2 separate regions of the Homo sapiens genome follow, and region 1 is linked to region 2. Evidence: promoter capture Hi-C in human tissues and cell types (Jung and others, 2019). All regions are on one chromosome and are shown on one strand. The core of a region is centred on a gene start or on the middle of the fragment in contact, and the rest is flanking DNA. Distances in the headings are between cores, read along the strand shown. Region 1 overlaps EVA1C (eva-1 homolog C). Region 2 holds the start of EVA1C (eva-1 homolog C).

Region 1 (2,700 bases), core at 57-2,556, 35 kb after region 2:
CAGCTGGCTCCTGCTCCACCCCACTTCCTACCTTCATCCTGGGAGACGCCTGGTCCACAGGGCATCTTCACTCTCAGTCCTGGCATCCTTGTTTCCAGCAACCTTCTCCACCAACCTCTCCTACCTCCTTCCATGGCCACTCCTGGACATTTCCATAACCTGCAAATCCACCTTGAAATCACTCCTCAAACAACTCGTGGGCACAGCCTCCTGCCTTTCCAGCCTGCTGTGTGATTCCCTCACTCTGACCTTGCTGGTCCTCATTAGGAACTCTGGTCCCTTGCGCCCCTCCCCTCTTCTGTGCTCATTTCCTTTCTTACATTTAGCTTGGAGCCCACGGTTCATCATTTTGAGCCGTCTCTTGACAATATCCCCCTTCAAACTTGTCGGACCATAACCCATGGTAAGAAATCTAATAGGTATGAGCCTGGCGCAGTGGCTCACACCTGTAATCCCAGCACTTTGGGAGGCTGAGGTGGGTGGATCACTTGAGGTCAGGAGTTCCAGACCAGCCTAGCCAAAAACAGAAATTAGCTGGGCATGGTGGCGGGCACTGTAGTCCCAGCTACTCCAGAGGCTGAGGCAGAACTGCTTGAACCAGGGAGGTGGAGGTTGCAGTCAACCAAAATCACGCCACTGCACTCCAGCCTGGGTGACAAAGGGAGACTCCGTCTCGGTGGGGGGAAAAGGAAAGAAATCTAATACATACGATCTAAGGGTCATGTGCATATGTATTTATCTGTACACATACATATATGCACAAGCCTCTTTCACTTTAACTCAATCACAATTATTTAAAAATCTCTCTCTGAACATCAGTTCTTACAGCTATGTTTCTCTTTTTTTTTTTTGATAACTTAATCACATCTGCCAAGTCCCTTTTACCATGAATGTCTGGTAACATAATCACTGATCCTGGGGATTAAGGCCTGTGGACATCTTTGGGGGCCGTTATTCTGCCTACCACATGGACCATCTTTGACTTTCTTCACTTCCACTCACTTTTCTTTTTTCTTTTTTCTGTGTTTTGAGATGGAGTTTTGCTCTTGTTGCCTAGCCTGGCGTGCAATGGCGCGATCTCAGCTCACTGCAACCTCTACCTCCCAGATTCAAGTGATTCACCTCCCTCAGCCTCCCGAGTAACTGGGATTACAAGCGCCTGCCACCACGTCCGGCTAATTTTGTATTTTTAGCAGAGACGGGGTTTTTCCATGTTAGTCAGGCTGGTTTTGAATTCTCATTCTCAGGTGATCCGCCTGCCTCGGCCTCCCAAAGTGCTGGGATTACAAGCGTGAGCCACCGCGCCTGGCCCCTCCACTCACTTTTCAACCTTTTCCGAACAAGCTTCTGTCCCCATCCCCCATCCCATATGGTTTCAAAATGGTTCTTGATGGCCTCCATGTTGCTGAAACCATGGGGTTGTTCTAATTGTCCTTCTTCCTGACCTTTTGGCACTGTGGACCAAACAGAATGGGGCATGGGCAGGCACCCTGGAGGACCAGAGCATTTGGGCAGCCTGTCCTGCTGTCACCCAGCAGCCCATCCTCGTGGGACTGAGGCTGGCTACAGAAGGCATTCCGCACCCGCTTGCTCCATGAGTTATCCAGGGCTCCATGTGCCTAGGCTTTCTTTATTGTTTAAAAGTGTAGGTCAGATAACTACAGGTGAAGTTTTCTTAAACATTTTTGTTTACATATCCAAAGTGGATAACTGGGTGAGCTTTCACAAAGTAAAGCACATGCCTGCCATCAGATCAAGGAACAGGACATGATGGCCAGCTCGCCCGAGCTCCTCGTTCTCCCCTCCCTAACGCTAGCTCCTCTCCTCCCATAGGTAATGCTATCCTGGGGCCGAGGTGATAAGGATTTTTTTTTCCTTTTAAATAGACTTAATGTGTTAGAGAAGTTCTAGGTTCATAGAAAAATGGAGAAGAGGCCAGGCACTGTGGCTCACACCTGTAATCCCAGCACTTTGAGAGGCTGAGGCGGGCAGATCACGAGGTCAGGAGTTTGAGACCAGCCTGACCAATATGATGAAACCCCAACTCTACTAAAAATACAAAAAAATTAGCCAGGCGTGGTGGTGCATGCCTGTAATCCTAGCTACTTGGGAGGCTGAGGCAGGAGAATTGCTTGAATCTGGGAGGTGGAGGTTGCAGTGGGCTGAGATCTTACCACTGTATTCCAGCCTGGGTGACAAAGAAAAAAAAAGAAAGGAGAAAAGAGAGAAAGAAAGAAAGAGAGAGAAAGAGAGAAAGAAAGAAAAGAGAAAGAAAAAGAAAGAAAGAAAGAGAGAAAGAAAGAAAGGAGGGAGGGTGGGAAGGAAGGAAGGAAGGAAAGAAGGAAGGAAAAGGAAAGAAAGAGAAAAGAAAAGAAAGAAAAATGGAGCAAAAAGTGCAGAGTTTTCATCAACCTCTACTCCTACCTGCCACACACATACACACACACGTGCAGCTTCCCCCACTAGCAATATCAAACCTGAGTGCGATATTTGTCATAATCAATAAACCTACATTGACAAATCACTATCACCCAGAGTCCATAGTTTACATGAGGGCTCACTTTTGGTGTTGTACGTTGCATGGGTTTGGACGTATGGACAATGACGTGGCTCCACCATTGTGGTATCACACAGGGTAGTTGCAATGCCCAAAAAGTCCTCTGTGTTCCACCAATTCATTCCTCCTTTCTCCTGACCTCT
Region 2 (2,700 bases), core at 45-2,544:
AGCATTTAACACACTTTTCCCCAGACTGGAAGAAGAGGCCGAGATCCCAATTCGGTGACCCAGCCCTTGCTGGAGTACTAGGTGGTATCTAATGCCATCCACCCTTCCGGGATCTTTACGGCCCACCTCTGAGTGGGTCCCACGGGGACCCTCAGCCGCATTTTCTTTCTGCAGGCCTCCCTGCACACTCTGGGGCGTTCGCAGCTCTGGAGCCCGCGGGGCAGTGCGTCCGGCCCCGCCCTGGGCCTCATTATCTACGTTTCCGCGTCACGCCCGCCGCGAACTTGGCAGGCCCTCCCGCCGGGTTCGGGAACACTGTGTGCCTAGCGCCCGCCCTCCTCCCTTCCGCCGGCCCCGCGCGATCCATAGGGTTTGGGTCGCTGGGCGCCAGGTACCCGCACCCGGCAAGCAGCCACGGAGCCCCTCGCGCACTTGTCCTCGATACCCTTGAGTTGGGGCTACGCAGGCCACTCCTAGGCCACTGGCTGGGCGTCCGAACGTGGGTCACCCCGCGCACAGTCTAGAGGTTCAGAAAGATGCTGTGGCCCACTTTAAAACAAAGCCCAATTATTAGCGCTCGGCGGCTGTTTGCGCCGGTGCAGTGTCAGATCCCCCAGCGCTGCGGACAACCAGCACCCAAAGGAAGCCGAGCTGGAGCTAAAGATCCCGGCTCCGGAGCCATCTGACCGGTTTTGAGACCTCCAGCTCGTCGCCGTCCTGGCTGCGAGAGCTTGGGCACGGCGCCGGGGCTCAGTCTCCTCTTCTGTGGAATGGCGATAACTGTATGTGCCGGGTGACTGCACGTGGCGCGCGGCGGGTGGCGGGGATGGCAGCGGTGCGATCCCACGCCTCCAGGACCCCACCTTCCTGCGGCCCCCGATCGGCCCCGCCCCGGGGGCGCCCCAGCTGCACGCGCGGCGCTGGCTCCAAAGTGCGTCACGGGCACCGGCCGCGCTCCTTCTGCCGCCAGGGCGAGGCTGGCACCCGGCCAGCGCGGGCAGGGCCACGGGTGCCCGGCTGTTTCCCGGGTGTGGAAGGCGCTCAAGGTGCGCGGCCCGGGGCGCGCTACTGGGGGCGCCCTCCGCGGTGGGCAGCGCGCCAGGGATCGGCCTGGGCAGCCGCGGGGCGCGCGAAGGCTGCGCTTTCCCTACGGCCCCCCTCGCTTCCTCCGGCACGGCGGCAACGGAGATTTCCTCTCGGGGAAACTACGCGGATCCTTTTCGGGGATCCTCGCCCCGCCCCAGTTCTCCGCCCCCTCCCCTTTGCTGGGGCGCCTGGGCTGGCCCGCGCAGGGGAGGAGGCTCTGGCAGCCTGGGCAGGGAGGCGGCGGGGGGCCGCGGAGCCGCTGGCCATCGATTCTCCCCGCCATGTGACGCCGTCCTTAGCCCTGCGACCCCCAGCGCGTCCCGGGCCTGCGCCTCCGCCCCGCCGCGCAGCGCACGATGCTTCTGCCGGGACGCGCACGCCAACCGCCGACGCCCCAGCCCGTGCAGCATCCCGGCCTCCGCCGGCAGGTAGAGCCGCCGGGGCAGCTCCTGCGCCTCTTCTACTGCACTGTCCTGGTCTGCTCCAAAGAGATCTCAGCGCTCACCGACTTCTCTGGTAAGAGCGCCCTCCCTGGCTGTGTGCCCCCGGCACCGCGGAGCGCCCAGGTGAACCCTCGACTGGGGGCAGCCGCACCAGTGGACACGGCGGGGTAGGATTAAAGTTGAGGCGTGCTCACAGACACTTGTCTGGTGTGAGCCCTTGGCATATAGATGGCTGCGAGTGAAGTGGCGACGGGGGACTGCCACTCCCAAGAAGGAAGGGTGTGTAATGTATTCAGAGTTTCTCGCCCTGCTGTTGACCTCGTCAATTTCCTAGCATTAGGGACCTGGTCCTGAGCCACGCTCGTTCTATGGAGGCTCCTTAAACTGAGCCCTGTGCCGCGCCCAGCGCTGTAAAATACACGTGTTGTGGTCGGAGGCGTTGCGCCGCGTTTGTCACCCGCGTAGCCCGTTTGCCCATGTAAGGAGACTAGCCCAGGGGACACTTGACCTCGAGTCCACATTGGCAGGTAGAAAGGGAAGCCCGCGGGGACTGGAGGTCTGGTGGAAAGGCAGTGAGGGATGAGGAGATACTTAGATAAGAGAGAGGAGCCTCTCTGCCAAAGTGTACCAGGGTCCTCCCTCTCCAATTCCAGTTTCCTTCACAGAAAATAATGACTTCCTACTCTCGAATAAACTAGGAGGCTTTTCTTTTTGGGAATCGTGATCCAGGCTCTCGCAGCGGATCTCAGATAGTTCTGAGCTTACAGGTGTGACGCCCCAAAGTGAAAGGGATTTCTAGGTTGACGATAGCCATAGGAGCACATGCTTAAGTTAGCGCTGCAGTTGCTTAAGGTAACACATGTCCTTGCCGCTGAAGCACACCTGGATCTCCCTCTGGCAAGGCTGGAGGCCTTCAGCCTTCCCCAGCCCAGCTTAGGGAGCAGCTCTGAGCCCCATACTCCTCCTTCTCCAGGGATCTTCTGCCAAGTTCAGGCTTTGCACAGTCGGTCCCTATCGGGTCCTCAGTGCAGAGTCTTTTGCAACATAATGGTGGTAAAGGGAGTCCTCCTCAGTCCTGTTTGTGCAGTAGGCTAGTACATAGCAAAGAACAAGGGCAAACCAGAAGTTGAGATGGGGTTCTAGTTTACTTACAGAGAATGTCATTGTTAGT

Evidence for each region. The method cuts DNA at HindIII sites, captures the fragments that hold promoters and counts their contacts. A contact is called where the count stands out against the background at its distance.
Region 1: a fragment that was not itself captured here is called in contact with the fragment with the promoter of EVA1C in region 2 in 3 of the 25 tissues and cell types used here (H1 embryonic stem cells, dorsolateral prefrontal cortex and heart left ventricle).

What each region holds. Positions count from the first base shown.
Region 1 is chr21:32,446,694-32,449,393 of GRCh38, forward strand. All of the region lies in intron 1 of EVA1C (eva-1 homolog C), which reads left to right. Among named protein-coding and RNA genes, the nearest start is that of EVA1C, 35 kb to the left of the region's middle. The HindIII fragment of the contact is 3,605 bases long and covers 1-2,700 here.
Region 2 is chr21:32,411,412-32,414,111 of GRCh38, forward strand. It overlaps EVA1C (eva-1 homolog C), which reads left to right and starts at 1,295. Exons shown (of 8, transcript NM_058187.5): 1 at 1,295-1,602. The coding sequence starts at 1,443. The HindIII fragment of the contact is 9,144 bases long and covers 1-2,700 here.